Regions from separate parts of the Homo sapiens genome. Here all the other regions are linked to region 1. The links are contacts of gene promoters, found by promoter capture Hi-C in human tissues and cell types (Jung and others, 2019). All regions are on one chromosome and are shown on one strand. Each heading gives the region's core, a stretch centred on a gene start or on the middle of the fragment in contact. The rest is flanking DNA. Distances are from core to core; before and after follow the strand shown.

Region 1 (2,890 bases), core at 160-2,659:
CCACGCTTCTGGTGCCAATCTCCCCTGCTGCGCCCACCCTGGGTCCCTAGCCTGGGCTCCAAACCAACTCCGAGCTAGGGAAGCTCCGAGCCAGGGTGCTTCTAGAGTGTCCGGCCCACCCCTCCGCTTCATTTCCCAAGACAGTGAGGGCGGGGCTAGAGGCCAGGTGCGGAGGTGCGGGACAGGAGCCAAGCTGGGTCGTAGTGGGATCCACCTGTGCGTGATACGTAACAGAAGGGAGAGGCGAGGCGCGGGGAGGTCCGCAGGGATGTGGGAGACGCGACGGGGAGGACTGGGACGAAACAAACTAGGTCCGCAAGGGTATAAGGGGAGCAGCTCGGAGGGTTGGGGCGAGGCGGGGTCTACAGGGGTGTGGGGGGCTTGGCAGGGAGCGCTGGGGCGACGCGGAGCTCCGCAGCGTTGGCGGGGAGCGTTGTGGGGAGACGGGGTCTGCAGGAATGTGAGGGCGCGGTGGGGAGCGTAGCGGGGTATGCAAGGTTGTGAGGGTTGTGGATGGGAGGGCTGGGGCGAGGCGGGGTCCGCAGAGATGTGGGGGGCGCAGAGATGGGGGGGGTCCGCGGGCCCGCCGGGGACCGCGCAGCCTCGGGCTCTGTGCCCGGGGCCGCGCGGGTTAACTAGAGAAGGTGACGCGCGCCCCTGTTGCTCAGCCGCGGCGCGTGCCTTCCCTGCGGCGATCCTAATTGGCCCGACAGAAGCCCGCCCCCAGAAGCCCCTCCCACAGTAGGCAAGGCCCCGCGTGCCGCAACGCTCCCAGAGTTGCGCGTCAGCCTGGACTCAGCGCCTGCGCTACGAGGCTGGGCGGGGCGCGGCCGGATCGGTCGAGAGCGTCCTGGCTGATGACGGTCTCCCGTGCCCACGCCCCAAACGCAGTCTCTGGCCTGGATGTGCTCGGAGCCCACGAGGTGCAGAGGCTCGGACGGCGAAAGGGACCTGGCTGAGATCTGGGTCTTAAACCGCGGGCTCGGCCCAGCATCCCGGCAGCGTGCGCCCACAAGTGACACCCGGCCGGGCGCGGTCTGCGGGATCGCAGGCGCCGGGTCTCATCTCCAGTTCACACACGGGACGAAACGGGCCACCCCTACCAGCTCTGAGAGCATGCACCTCCAACTCCATCCCTCCCCACATGCCCGACCCCCCAACCCGTAACTCAGGCAGACACCTGGGCGTCCCCCTTCAGCGAATGCCCACACCGCGGGCAGGCCTGCCCCTCACCCCGCAGTCAGGGCGCCCTGCATCCTTCTTTGTAAAACCCATAGCTGTAGAGGGAGCGGAATGGTGGGGCAGGGCTGGGAGCCCAGCGGGAGTGAGTGGTGGGGAATGATGGTGGCCAAGGTCACACAAAGCAGTGAATTCACTTCATGTCACAGAACTGCTCAGGTTACGATAGTTACTTTTGTTATGTATTTTACCACAATTTTTAAAAAGCAAACCAAAACCAACCAAGAGTGCTTCCCCCACACCTCAAAATCATCCTGCAGCAGCTCCCTGGCCCAGCTCTCTCTCACCCTGACCCTGGGCCCCTCTCCCACCACCCAGGGCTAGCCCTGTGGACCAACCATCTCTGCCAGCCCCTCCCCGACCCTCCAGCCAGGGAGGTGGGGCGCTGGCCGGTGAATGGGGCAGGCCAGGCCCAAAGGCTGGCCCAGGGCTCACCAGCTCTGGACTGGGCGTCCCGTCTGAGGTGGGGATGACCAACATGCCAGCTCTGGGTTTTAGCTGAGGATGGGCACATCAAGCACTGACAGCCAGCAAGCTGGGCACAGGCGATGCTCAACCTCTAACACATCGGCTGAGAACCTCACCTGCCTCTCCCTGCCTGGGAGCCCTGGCAAGACAGCTCCTCTCCCAGGCCCAGCACAGGCAGGCGCTGGACAGCCACTTCCTAAGGGGTGCGCGGCCGTCAAGGCAGAGGTGGGTATCCCTGCACCTCACACCTCTCAGGAGGTCAGGATCCACATCCGTCGCCTGCTTTCCTGGGCTGCCCCTGGGGCTTGTGGGCTGAGATCAACCCCTTGTGCCCTGCCCCAGGCCCTCCCTCAGGCGAGGCCCTGCCCAGGCAGGTGGTTCTTCCCTGGCTGTTCCCTTCCAACAGGTGGGGCCCAGACCATCCTATCTCTTTGGACCTGGAGACATTTCCTTAACTGGGCTTTGCAGCAGAGGGAAGAGAACAGTGGCAGAGCCAGGCGCGTACCTCCTGTGCCCAGGACAGCACCTGTAAGCAAGGGGGAAGGGAGCCACCCACCCCAGAACTCAAATGGAGAGAAAGTCAAGACAATCACCCCTGACGTGGGGCTGCACCAATCCCTGACGTCTGACCCCACTGTGGCTGTCCTCAGAGCCAAGAGGGCTCCAGAAGCCCACCCGCCTCGAAGCTGTTCAGGGAGCCTCACGGCCCGTGTTTGCCACATGGGTGTGTGCCAGGGCCAAGGGGACACAGAAGATGGCAGGATGACACTAATGGGGTGAGCAGGGCACACTGGTGCCTCCCATACTGCCCTCCAGCACCAGGCAGGGTCACCACAGCCGGCAAGCACTGGGCCTGGGGATGTGTGAAGAGATAGGGTTATTGAGAAGAGAAAACAGAACGCTGGTCATCCGTGGCACTCAGGGCTAGGCAGTCCAGGGAGCAGAAAACAGGGGTCCCGGGCCCAGTCTCCCTCCTGGAGGTCAGAGCGGAGCCCCTGGCACTGTGCCCTGGCCCAGAACCAGGCTGTGGGCTCCACGCTGCACACCCCAACTCAGGAGCAGAAAGCAAACCCCTGACTGTCCACACTCCCTGTGACTGGTCCCCTTCCTGCCGGCTCTTCACCCCCAGCCCATGGTGGCTTCACCCCATGGCACCAGCCACTGACTGCCTGCCCCTCCCTCC
Region 2 (2,890 bases), core at 221-2,720, 330 kb before region 1:
AGCAATCTCGGGCAAGTCACTTAACCGCCCTAAGCTGCCTCAGTTTCCTTATCTGCAGAGTGGGAATAATAAAGACATTTGAGGATTAGGAGGCAATGCATGGCACTCCTAAATGTTTGCTCTATTATATAAATACTATATTTATATTTGTATAAATATATTTATTACATACATATTCACTACTATGGTTTTTTTTTTTTTTTTTTGAAACAGAGTCTCGCTCTGTCGCCCAGGCTGGAGTGCAGTGGCGTGATCTCAGCTCACTGCAACCTCCGCCTCCCAGGTTCAAGCGATTCTCCTGCCTCAGCCTCCCAAGTAGATGGGACTAAGGGCGCCTGCCACCATGCCTGGCTAATTTTTTTTTTTTTGTATTTTTAGTAGAGACGGGGTTTTACTATGTTGGCCAGACTGGTATTGAACTCCTGACCTCATGATCTGTCCGTCTTGGCCTCCCAAAGTGCTGGGATTACAGGAATAAGCCACCCCACCCAGACACTATGGTTGTTTTTAATTCACCCCCGGCGGTAGCAAGGGCCCTGCTGGAGGCTTGTTGATCGAATGAGTGAAGGGGCGCAGGCTCCTGCCTCTTTGTAGAGGAGGAAGCCTGCCCTGCTTGGGTGGGAGTGTCCCAAGTGTGGGGCGCTGCAGGGCACTGAGTCAGGGAAGGTCTCACAGGATTCAGCCCCGGGTTGCCACTGTGGCAGCCGCTGGGGGGAAGCACCGAGAATCCACTCCCAGCCCAGGACCCGGCCCCCCACAGCCCAGCCCAGCAGCTCTTTGAATCCTGGGAGTCCCAGCCCTTCCCGGGGCCCCTCTTCTCTCAACCCCCCTGCTTGGCCGAGCCCTGGTGCCCATGGGCTCCTCCCCTTCCCAGGAGTCCAGGTGAGGTGAGTTGTCAGGTGTCTGAACCGCAGGGCAGAGCCCCGCCTCCAGGAACGACAGGAGGGCGGCCACCAGGAGGCCACCAAGGTCGCCACTCACCTGATTCACAGCTTTCGGGAAGTGGGTTAACGGGATTCCCAAGCCCGGGTTGCGCCAGGTCTCTGGGCTGAGTCACAGGGGCCTGGGGCCCTGCAGGTGGGAGCCGTTACTGAGCTTTGGGCACCCCCTTGATCCCTAAGGCCCTAGGACCACCCCCAACACCCAGTACCCCAGACTTCAGCCTCTCCAAACCCAGGCCCTCCCCAGCCCGGAACCCCTTCCTTTCAGTGCCCTGGCACCTTTCTCTGCCCCTGGACAATTAATGTCAGGGACCTCTGGGCCCAAGCCCCCTCCCCTGCCCTTCCAGAGGCCACATCCTGGGGTCTCAGCTAGAGCCCCCCCAGAGCCCTGTAGCGGCTGGCTTCCTCCCCGCAGCCCCGCCCTCTGCCCAGGACCCACAGCCGGGGTGGCCGCGGGAGCCACCTGGGGACTGGTCTGACGGCATTCCGCCTCCCAGGATAAAACCTGGGGCGACCTGCAGGGAACCTACACACCCTGACCCGCATCGCCCTGGGTCTCTCGAGCCTGCTGCCTGCTCCCCCGCCCCACCAGCCATGGTGGTTTCTGGAGCGCCCCCAGCCCTGGGTGGGGGCTGTCTCGGCACCTTCACCTCCCTGCTGCTGCTGGCGTCGACAGGTACGTCCGGAGGCTGCTCCTCCCTCCTCCCTCTCACCTCCACCCTCCTTCCCTCCTTCCCTCCCTCCCTCTCTCCCTCCTGGCCTTGCCTCTCTCATCTCCTTTCCGCTTCTGCTCTGTTTATCTCTTGCTCCTTAACTGCTCTGTGCCTCGGTTTCTTCTACGGCTGTGAGGATGAAACAGAAAACGCAGCAAGTACGCAGCGCGCCTCGGTCTCCAGTTACCGTCGGCGTCGCCATCGCCTGCTCCCTCTCGCCTCCGTGTTCTCCCATCTCCTCGTCCTCCGCTGCTTGCCTCTGGGGAAGCACCGTTTTGTGTTGTTCCTGCCGCAGGAGGTCAGGGGAGGGCACACCAGCGGCAGCAGCGTCCAGAGCCGAGGGGCTCAGGTCTGTGCCTCCCTCGAGGAGCCGGTCCTGGTCCCCGGAAGGCAGGCTGGACGGGAAGCTGCGGGAGGGCAGGGTCACAGCTGTGCAGCCAGGGCCTGGCCAGGCCCCAGGAAATGCCCCGCCGGTAGGGGCCCTGGGGTTGAGAGACTTGAGAGTCTCCCTGGGCACTGGAGGGCTAGAGGTTCCTCACCACCAGGTACTCAAGGGGACCCCCTCCTCACTGGGCGCTGGGACGCCTGCTCACTGGGCGCTGGGACCCCTCCTCACTGGGCGCTGGGACCCCCTCCTCACTGAGCGCTGGGACCCCCTCGTCACTGGGCGCTGGGGACCCCTCCTCACTGGGCGCTGGGGAGCCCTCCTCACTGGGCGCTGGGGACCCCTCCTCACTGGGCGCTGGGGAACCCTCCTCACTAGGCGCTGGGGAGCCCTCCTCACTGGGCGCTGGGGACCCCTCCTCACTGGGTGCTGGGACCCCTTCCCACTGGGCACTGGACCCCTTCTCACTGGGTGCTGGGGGCTTCTCGCTGGGCGCTGAGGGACCCTCCTCACTGGGTACTGGGACCCCTCCTCACTGGGCGCTGAGGGACCCTCCTCAGGGGGTGCTGGGACCCCTCCTCACTGGGCGCTGAGGGACCCTCCTCACTGGGTGCTGGGACCTCCACCTCACTGGGCACTGGGATCCCTTCTTACTGGGTGTTGGGGGCCTTCCTCACTGGGCGTTGAGGGCCCCTCACCACTGTGTCCTGGGGCCCCTCACCGGCCTAACCGTTTCCTTCTCTTGCCCTCAGCCATCCTCAATGCGGCCAGGATACCTGGTGAGTGGAGCTGGCAGCTCTGACGGGAGGGAGAAGGGAGGAGGCCCACGCGCAGGCAGTGTCTATGTGTCC
Region 3 (2,890 bases), core at 11-2,510, 280 kb after region 1:
TCCTTCTTCAGTGTCCAGAGTAGCAGGGGCTAATTTTTTTTTAATTTTTTAATTTTTTTTTTGAGACAGTCTCTGTTGCCTGGGTTGGAGTGCAGTGGCGCAATATTGGCTCACTACAACCTCTGCCTCCTGGGTTCAAGTGATTTTCCTGCCTCAGCCTCCTGAGTAGCTGGAATTACAGGCACCTGCCACCATGCCCAGCTAATTTTTTGTATTTCTAGTAGAGACGGCGTTTCATCATATTGGCCCGGCTGGTCTCAAACTCCTGACCTCATGATTTGCCCACCTTGGCCCCCAAAGTGCTGGGATTACAGGCATGAGCCACCGCGCCCAGCAGCAGGAGCTAATTTTTAAGAATTTTTTGTAGCAACAAGTTGTTGCTATGTTACCCAGCTGGTCCTGAGTCACTGGGGTTACAGGTGTGTGTCACCATGCCAGGCTTGCTTCCTCCTCCGTTAAGTGGCCATTTTTCCACCTCAAAAATTGGTTTGGGACACAAGGAAGAATTGGAAATGCTTAAGATGAGAACAAAAGTTGAGACCACCCAACACAGCTGGGACCTTACTGCCCAGTGCTCCCAGTGGTCTGACCAAAACCCCACACCAGACAGTACAAAGGCCCACTCCCGAGCTGCCGCTTACGGCCCAGCGGGAACAGACTGTATTCTTATCTTTCGGCATTTCTCTGCAAATAAAAAGGTGCCACTGCGGTCCGGCCTTTGTGCACTTGCCCTTGTGCTGAGCAAGGCGGGTGGCCTGTTCTTACCGCTGGGTTCTGCTGCCCCCACCCCCATTTCGGTGACTAAACCTGCAGCTCTGATCCTGTTCCCAAAGGGGCAGGAGGCCGGGCTCACCCCAGGCAGCCCCTGGCCTCCCTGACGGCCCCCTCGGGAGGGGTTCCGTGCTTTGATCGCCTTTCCAGCGCCGATACTGCAGTAGCTGGGCCCGGCCGAGAGCTCGCGGTCACGAACACCGGCAGCCTCTTGCCTACAGTGTCCCGCGCTGTAGAAGAGCCTGCCCTGGCGCTGAGCTGGTCGTGGCTGCTTCAGCAGTGGGCCTGCGCCTCCTTGTAGGCCAGCCCTGGCCCAGATCCAGGTGCCTGCCCCGGAAGCGCGCGGCTGCCCGGGGTGAAGCCGGAGGGCGGCGAGCGGCTGTTTCGGCCGGTAGGTGGAGGCGTTGACCAGCCTCTGGGAACGGGGCGGGACCTAGTTGGGGGGGCTCCGCCCCCTCCCCAGGAGGCGAGCTCAGCCCGCGACCTTTATCCCGCGCGTTGCGGTCAAGATGGCGCTGGTGGCTTCTGTGCGAGTCCCGGCGCGCGTTCTGCTCCGCGCGGGTGCGAAACCCGGGGTGGGCAGGGATCGGGCCGGGGCCGGGGCCAGGACCGGGAACTAACGGGCTCCCCCACGCTGCCTTCGCAGGGGCCCGGCTCCCGGGCGCGGCCCTCGGGCGGACGGAGCGGGCGGCCGGCGGCGGAGACGGCGCGCGGCGCTTCGGGAGCCAGCGGGTGCTGGTGGAGCCGGACGCGGGCGCAGGTGAGCGGGCGGCGCCGAGGGAGGGCGGGCGTGGGGTCAGGACCCGCGGGGGTCCGCGCTCGCGGGGTGCTGTCGGAGAACCACGTCTGTCGACGCTCGGTTTGTGTTTAGAACCCAAGTTTCGAAACAGAACCTTGCCGCTCTACCTGGGTTCGTTCGTCATGAGATAAAAGTTTCTGTTTTTAAAGTTGGCGGAGGCCGGGCGCGGTGGCTCACGCCTGTAATCCTAGCACTTTAAGAGGCAGAGGCGGGCGGATCACCTGAGGTCAGGAGTTCGAGATCAGCCTGGCCAACATGATGAAACCCTATCTGTACTGAAAAATACAAAAGAAAAAAATTAGCTGGGCGTGGTGGTGCGTGCCTATGCCTGGGAGGCTGAGGCAGAAGAATCGCTGGAATCTGGGAGGTGGAGGCTGCAGTGAGCCGAGATTGTGCCACTGCACTCCAGCTTGGGCCACAGAGCAAGATTCCGTCTCAAAATAAATAAATAAATAAAAATAAAGTTGGCGGGGATATGAGCTGTTATCTAAGTTATTCAATTGGAAGTGGAAAAGAATTGGAATCTTTTGGAATAAAATTACGTTTGTTAACACTCCCATGTGGCACAGAACCTCGTACCTACCCGCCCGTCAGAACCCTTGGTAAAACCCACTGGAAAGGATAGAAAAAGTACTTTTGGAAGAGAAGCCTGTGCGCTCCCTCCAGACAGGAGGCCGAGCTGAGGGCACCGAGAGGGCACGCCTAGGCGCCAGCAGTTCTGCTTCCAGGACATGCTGACCTGGACCTCCCGGTGCAGCAGTCCCTGCTGTGGCTCCTGAGAGGAGGCCCTCCCCCTCCGCAAGTAAGTCACAGCCCCTGCCCTCCCCAACCCCCCAGACTCAGGGCTGTGCCCAACTTTGCACAGCTTCAGGACTCCAGGCTCCTGGTGCCTCTGAACTTGGTTCCGTCCTCTCTGTCTGGGCTGAGGGAGCTGCCTGGGCTCTCTCTACAAACTTGAGAGGGACAAACTAAGACCAACTTCAAACTGACTTTTTTTTTTTTTTTTTTTTTTTTTGGAGATGTAGTCTTGCTCTCCAGTCGCCAGACTGGAGTGCAGTGGCGCAATCTCCGATCACTGCAACCTGTGCCTCCTGGGTTCAAGCGATTCTCCCTCCTCAGCCTCCCAAATAGCTGGGATTACAGGGACCCACCACTATGCCCACTAATTTTTGTAAAAACTGAGTTTCTGAAGGGATCATTTCTGTAGCATATTTGAATATATCTCAACAAAATGCAAAAAAAAAAATTATTATTTTTTTTTTTTTGAGACAGAGGCTCCCTCTGTCACCCAGGCTGGCGTGCAATGGCGCGGTTCCGGCT
Region 4 (2,890 bases), core at 199-2,698, 260 kb after region 1:
TTCCCTTCTCCCTTCCTTGCTGCCACGAAGCTGTTCAGACAAAGTCTGAAGCTCAGCGCACCGTCAATCCCTCCACAAATAACCACAGGGCAACGACTGCCTGACAGGCACAGCAGAGAACAAAACCCGCCCTCGGCCGGGGGCGGTGGCTCACGCCTGTAATCCCAGCACTTTGGGACGCCCAGGAGCGAGCACTTTGGGAGGCCAAGGCGAACCTAGGAGCGGATCACGAGGTCAGGAGTTCTCGACCAGTCTGGCCAACATAGTGAAACCCTGTCTCTACCAGAAAAATACAAAAAAAATTAGCCGGGTGTGGTAGTGTGCGCCTGTAATCCCAGCTACTCGGGAGGCTGAGGCAGGAGAATCGCTTGAACCCGGGAGGCGGAGGTTGCAGTGAGCCGAGATCGCGCCGCTGCACTCCAGCCTGGGCAACAGTGCGAGACTCTGTCAAAAAAAAAAAAAAATCCGCCCCGTCAGTGTGGGGAGTTGACGCGGAGCCTCCTGCCTGCACCCCTACAGCGTCACCCCCTCCTCTGTCCCTGCCAGAGGCGCCACCTCTGGACTCTCCCAGGGTCGGACCCTGGTCGACAGTGCTCCCTGCCCGGACCCTGCACCGGCCGATGGATGAAGCCTCGGCGCTGCGCCGTTCACACGCTCCGTGCCGCTGCCGCGAAGCTCGCGCGGGCCTGCGAGCCGGTACCCGGGCCTCCCTTCCCTGCTTCCAGCGAACCTCGGCGCCTGCTGTTCCCCCGCCGGGCGCGCCCTTCCATTCGGGTCTCAGCGGCAGTGTCACCTCCCCGGAGAGGCCCGCCGTTGCACCCCATCTCCCACTCTCAAGCTCGTCGCTCTTCCTGCCCGCACAGCCCGCCTGCCGCGCCCACCCGGTGGAGGTCCGCCTGCCGGGAGGCCGCGTCCACGGGAACACCCCAAACGCCACCAGTGGATTTTGACCGCACGAACGCACGCCCTGCCCCAGCCCGTCTCTCCGAGCTACTTCCGCCCTGCGGGCCCCCACGCCCCGCCACGCACGGCCGCAGAGCCTGCGAACCCCTCCTGTGCTACCACCCCGCCGGCCTCAGCACAGCCCGGCCCGGAGCCCCGCCTCCACCGCCGGCGACAGGGGCCGGAGTCTGCCCGGGCGGGCCCAGTGCGCCCGCGCAAGGAAAGGGGCGGGGCACGGGCGCGTTAACACCCTCCGCGCCGGAGGACGAGCCTCGGTCATCGCGCTGCCCTCCCAGGTTCAACAGGCTACCCATGTGCCCGCTCCAGTAAGCGTGCAACCAGCCCGGTCAGTCCCAGGGACTTTACCGGCTAGGAGACACCTTGAACGTCCCCAGCGCGACTCCCACAAACTGCCTTGACTCTTTAACGCTTCCTCGCTGGCGCCCATTGGGCCAGGCGTTTACGTCATCGCTGCGCGCCGGGCGGCGGCGACTTCCCGCTCCTTGACTCTGACGTCAGAGCGGCGCCGGCCTCGGCGGCTGAGGAAAGCAGGAGGAGGTGGCGGCGGCGGGAAGATGTAAGTTGGGGCGGAATCCGACTGCATCCGTGTTTCGGGGGCTGCCCGGCAGGCCCGGCAGGACGCCTCGTGAAGCCGGTCCACTCCTCAGCCCCGCAGTGCGGCGGTGGCCTGGCAGCGCGGTGCGGGCTCCGAGAAGAAAGAGTGTGGCCCGGGGCGGGCGGAGTGGGAGGTGTCGAGGCCGTGGCCCGGAAGTGGTCGGGGCCGCTGCGGACGGAAGGGCGCCTGTGCTTCGTCCGCTCGGCGGTGGCCCAGCCAGGCCCGCGGGACTCAGACCAGCGGGGAGCGCGGCCTCCGCCCTTGGGGCCCTCCCGCCGGGCCGGAGACCCAAGCCCCCAACGCCAGGCCCTGCCCTGGAAGCGCTCGCGGCCCGGCGCCTGGACGGGGGAGTTGTGAGTGAACGCGGACGGGTAGCGGCGAGGTCGGCGTGTCGGGCCGGTGTCGGCGGGCGCGGAGTTTCTTTGTGGGATGCGGTGGAAGGTCGGCCGATCCCCCCTTCGGAGTCATTAATTCAAACGTGTACTCCGCGAACGTTTCCCGGACTCCCGTGTGCAATTATCGGCGCTAGGCCGTGGGGATACGGCCCACTATGGACCGAGCACGGTGGCCGAGCTCAGTTTGATGGGTTACCCCAGAGGGGCGGATACGGGAAGGTTAAGTTTGTTGGAGGAGAAACGTGGAGTAGGCTTTTTGTCTTGATTCCGCATGAACTGTGCCTGAAATGTACTTTTAAATGGGGAAGGTGCTCTGAAGATTTGTGCCGAAACGCCCTCTCCTCGAGATTTAACTAATTGTTCTCTCCTCTCTCTGGCTGTTGGACGCGCACCTTTCCGGAGGATGGGGGAGGTAACCGAGGTCCTGAGCCGGTACCTGAACTTGGGTGAACAGAGAACCTCAACTTTTGCTTTCTAGCACTCGACCGCACCCAGCAAGGCGTCCGCTTACTCAGTGGTTCTTAGTGTTTGGAGTGCTTAAGAATAACTGGTGGTGTTTGATTTCACCAAGTACATTCGGGCAGATCTTAGTTCTTGGGGGGGTGGGGCTGGAATCTGCGGGTGTGACCTCCACTCTAGGTCTGTGCTGTCCAGCCAAGTAGCCATTGGCCACATGTGGCTGCTAAGCATGTGAAATACAGCTAATCAAGACTGAAATATTAAAACACACACCAGTTTTAGAAGACTAGGAAAAAAGCAAACTTTTATTAGATGTTTATGTTGATTATATGTTGGAAAGATAATATTTTGGATGTGTCAAACGTTAAAAATTAATTTCACCCATTTTTGTGACGTGGCTACTAAGGAATTTCAGGTGATGCTTGTGGCTCCTCACACGGTTTCTATTGGACAGTGCTGCTGCAGGTGATTCGAAGGC
Region 5 (2,890 bases), core at 106-2,605, 260 kb before region 1:
GAGAACAAGTTGGGCATCATTGCAAGACCCCATCTCTGGAAAAAAAAATTGCTAGGTGCTGTGGCATGCACCTGTGGTCCCAACTACTTGGGAAGCTGAGGTGGCAGGATCACTTGAGCCCAGAGGTCAAGGACGCAGGGAGTTGTGATTGTACCACTGCACTCCAGCCTGGGTGACAGAGCAAGACCCTGTCTCTCTCTCCCTTTTTATTTTTTTTTGAGACAGAATCTCACTGCGTCGCCCAGGCTGGAGTGCAGTGGCATAATCTCGGCTCACTGCAACTTCCACCTCCCGGGTTCAAGCAATTCCTGTGCCTCAGCCTCCCGAGTAGCTGAGATTGCAGGCGCCCACCATCAGGCCTGGCTAATTTTTGTATTTTTAGTAGAGACGAGGTTTCACCATGTTGGCCAGGCTCGTCTCAAACCCCTGACCTCAAATGAGCCACCCATCTCGGCTTCCCAAAATGCAGGGATTACAGGCATGAGCCACCATGCTTGGCCAAGACCCTGTCTCTTTAAAAAAAAAAAGAAAGAAAAACAAAAAAAAAAAAAAGGAAAAAAGTACAACTATGGCAGGGCTGCAAAGGAGGCAGGAGGAGGTGGCAGAGCAGAAGGCTGAGGGATAAGAGGAGTTCACTATGCAGAGAGGGACTTGAGAGACTTCTAGGCAGCGAACACTGTGTATGAGCCCAAGAGGGAACTACAGGGCCCTGGACCATCCGGGCCCCGGTCCTCCACGGGCCTCGAGAGAAGGGGAGTTCCTGTCCCCTGACCCCAGCATCTTGCTCTGTCTCGGCCACCCCAAACCAAAGACTGCACTGGTCCCCAAGGTCAAGTCTCCCCCTGCCTCTGGTCAAGTAAGGAGTGCCACCAACTTTGAACCAGTCCCTTTCCACCTCCAGCTGCTCCAGACCCCGGATCTGGAAGGGGGCTGGCCATGCTGGGGTCTCTGGGTGGAGCTGTCTGGCCAGGACTTCCGTCTGAGATGGGATTTCTGGACAGAACAATGGAGCGCAGAAGCTCCAGCAACGTGTGCTCTGCAGGGAGCCCAGGTCAGGTTTGGAGAGGAGTTGCCCCGGATCCTGCAGAGCTTCCCCACCTGACTGCCACCCCTCCCAGCACCTACCCGCACCACTGCTCTCCGCCAGCCCCCACTTCTAGTACCTTGGCGCAAGGCAGGCTTCCTTTGAGAAACCCATTGACCCTTTCCTGCCACCTCTGAAGCTCTGCTCAAAGCATCTTTGTTTGAGGCTGGTCCGGTAAAGCCACAGCCCCGCCCCGGCCCTGTTCATTACTCCTTGGCTGAGCCTCGCGCTCTCCTGGCACTTTAAGCCCCCAGGCCCTCCCTCAACCCCAGTCAGCAGAAGGCGCCAGGCTGTGAGGGTGAGAGCAAGCCAGGGGCTGTGGGGGCTGCAGGGGCAGCCAGTGGGTGAGGATGAGGGTGAGGACGAGGAGGGGTGAAGGATGGGGGAGGGGGTGAGGATGAGGGAAGTGGTGAAGATGAGGGAGGGGAGTGAGGAGGAAGGGGGTGAGGATAGAGGAGGGGGTGAGGATGAGGGAGGGGGTGACGATGGGGGGGTGAAGGATGGAGGAGGGGTGATGAGAGAGGAGTGAGGATGAGGGAGGGGGTGAAGGATGAGGGAGGGGGTGAGGATGAGACAGGGGTGAGGATGAGGGAGGGGGTGAGGATGAGGGAGGGGAGTGAGGAGGAGGGGGCTGAGGATGGAGGAGGGGGTGAGGATAGAGGAGGGGTGAGGATGAGGGAGGGGTGAGGATGAGAGAGGGGTGAGGATGAGAGGTGAGGATGAGGGAGGGGGTGAGGATGAGGGAGGGGAGTGAGGAGGAGCAGGGGTGACGATGGAGGACGGGGTGAGGATAGAGGAGGAGGTGAGGATGAGGGAGGGGGTGAGGATGAGAGAGGGATGAGGATGAGGGAAGGGGTGAGGATAAGGGAGGGGAGTGAGGAGGAGGGGGGTGAGGATGGAGGAGGGAGTGAGGATGAGGGAGGGGGTGAGGATGAGGGAGGGGGTGAGGATGGGGGAGGGGGATGAGGGAGGGAGTGAGGATGACCGAGGGGGGTTAGGCTCCAGGGCTTCTGTCGAGACCAAGGATGCCCAAATATCTGGGTGGTGGGTGCTGCATACCTGGGCCCTGGGCAGAACGAAGGGTATACAGCCTGGGCCACCAGGATAAGTCCAGAACCCACCAGGAGCTGAGGACAGACAGAAGGACCACGGAGGGGGTGACGGGCTGGTGTGAGGATTGGTGCCCCTGGGCCAGGACTCTCCTCTCTTCTCCCTGCTGGCTCCAGACCAGAGTCCAAGCCCTAGGCAGTGCCACCCTTACCCAGCCCAGCCTTGAAGACAGAATGAGAGGGGTTTCCTGTCTCCAGGTCCTGCTCCTTCTGGTGCTGGGTGAGTGGGGACAGGGACTGGGGGTGAGGGCCGCAGACACCTTGGCTCCCAGTTCTCCCATCTCACTGCTCCCTGGGCCGGGCTCCCTGGAGCACTCTTGGGCTTTCTAATCTTGATTCCAAGGGCTCAATCCTCTCTGCCACTGACCTTGACCTCACCACACCTCGATGTGCTTGTCGGTGTCATGCTCATACGCCCTTGCCCCCTGCACCTTCACAGTGCTCTGGGGAGGGTTAAATAAGATAACAGACGGCACGAAAGCCTGGCGCAATGTCAGGGCAACATTGTTTCACCCTCCTTCCTCATCTCTGGCCTCCCCTCCAACTCCGTTATTTGACACCAAATCTATAATCTGGTCCCTTCCCTGCTTCCTCCTCCAGGAGCTGCTGGGACTCAGGGAAGGAAGTCTGCAGGTGAGGAAGCCTCGGAGTCCACCCGAGTCAGCCCCTCCTGGACCTCGGCCCCGTGTCTCCCCAC

The links. Contacts are between HindIII fragments. The study calls those that stand out against the background at their distance.
Region 2: the fragment with the promoter of PRSS22 here is called in contact with the fragment with the promoter of CEMP1 in region 1 in 2 of the 25 tissues and cell types used here (adrenal gland and dorsolateral prefrontal cortex).
Region 3: the fragment with the promoter of ECI1 here is called in contact with the fragment with the promoter of CEMP1 in region 1 in 3 of the 25 tissues and cell types used here (dorsolateral prefrontal cortex, liver and lymphoblastoid cells).
Region 4: the fragment with the promoter of RNPS1 here is called in contact with the fragment with the promoter of CEMP1 in region 1 in 3 of the 25 tissues and cell types used here (IMR-90 fibroblasts, dorsolateral prefrontal cortex and lymphoblastoid cells).
Region 5: the fragment with the promoter of PRSS33 here is called in contact with the fragment with the promoter of CEMP1 in region 1 in 4 of the 25 tissues and cell types used here (adrenal gland, heart right ventricle, spleen and 1 more).

The regions. Positions count from the first base shown.
Region 1 is chr16:2,529,927-2,532,816 of GRCh38, reverse strand. CEMP1 (cementum protein 1) reads left to right here and starts at 1,409. Exons shown (of 1, transcript NM_001048212.3): 1 at 1,409-2,782. The coding sequence starts at 1,744. The coding sequence ends at 2,487. It overlaps AMDHD2 (amidohydrolase domain containing 2), which reads right to left. Exons shown (of 11, transcript NM_001330449.2): 11 at 1,400-2,890. MIR3178 (microRNA 3178) reads left to right here and starts at 812; the gene lies at 812-895. RefSeq lists enhancers at 127-176, 1-178, 957-1,006. The HindIII fragment of the contact is 25,225 bases long and covers 1-2,890 here.
Region 2 is chr16:2,856,750-2,859,639 of GRCh38, reverse strand. PRSS22 (serine protease 22) reads left to right here and starts at 1,470. Exons shown (of 6, transcript NM_022119.4): 1 at 1,470-1,617; 2 at 2,792-2,818. The coding sequence starts at 1,536. RefSeq lists enhancers at 284-883, 884-1,484, 1,485-2,085. The HindIII fragment of the contact is 21,792 bases long and covers 1-2,890 here.
Region 3 is chr16:2,249,957-2,252,846 of GRCh38, reverse strand. ECI1 (enoyl-CoA delta isomerase 1) reads left to right here and starts at 1,260. Exons shown (of 7, transcript NM_001919.4): 1 at 1,260-1,332; 2 at 1,418-1,531. The coding sequence starts at 1,281. LOC107984839 (a long non-coding RNA gene) reads right to left here and starts at 1,177. Exons shown (of 2, transcript XR_001752052.2): 1 at 854-1,177. RefSeq lists enhancers at 809-868, 1,799-1,928 and a silencer at 1,119-1,588. The HindIII fragment of the contact is 14,026 bases long and covers 1-2,551 here.
Region 4 is chr16:2,266,684-2,269,573 of GRCh38, reverse strand. RNPS1 (RNA binding protein with serine rich domain 1) reads left to right here and starts at 1,448. Exons shown (of 8, transcript NM_080594.4): 1 at 1,448-1,519. It overlaps MIR3677HG (MIR3677 and MIR940 host gene), which reads right to left and starts at 911. Exons shown (of 3, transcript NR_132988.1): 1 at 731-911. RefSeq lists a silencer at 801-1,250 and an enhancer at 1,381-1,640. The HindIII fragment of the contact is 10,724 bases long and covers 1-2,890 here.
Region 5 is chr16:2,786,025-2,788,914 of GRCh38, reverse strand. It overlaps PRSS33 (serine protease 33), which reads left to right and starts at 1,355. Exons shown (of 7, transcript NM_152891.3): 1 at 1,355-1,382; 2 at 2,311-2,413; 3 at 2,794-2,826. The coding sequence starts at 2,368. The HindIII fragment of the contact is 27,852 bases long and covers 1-2,890 here.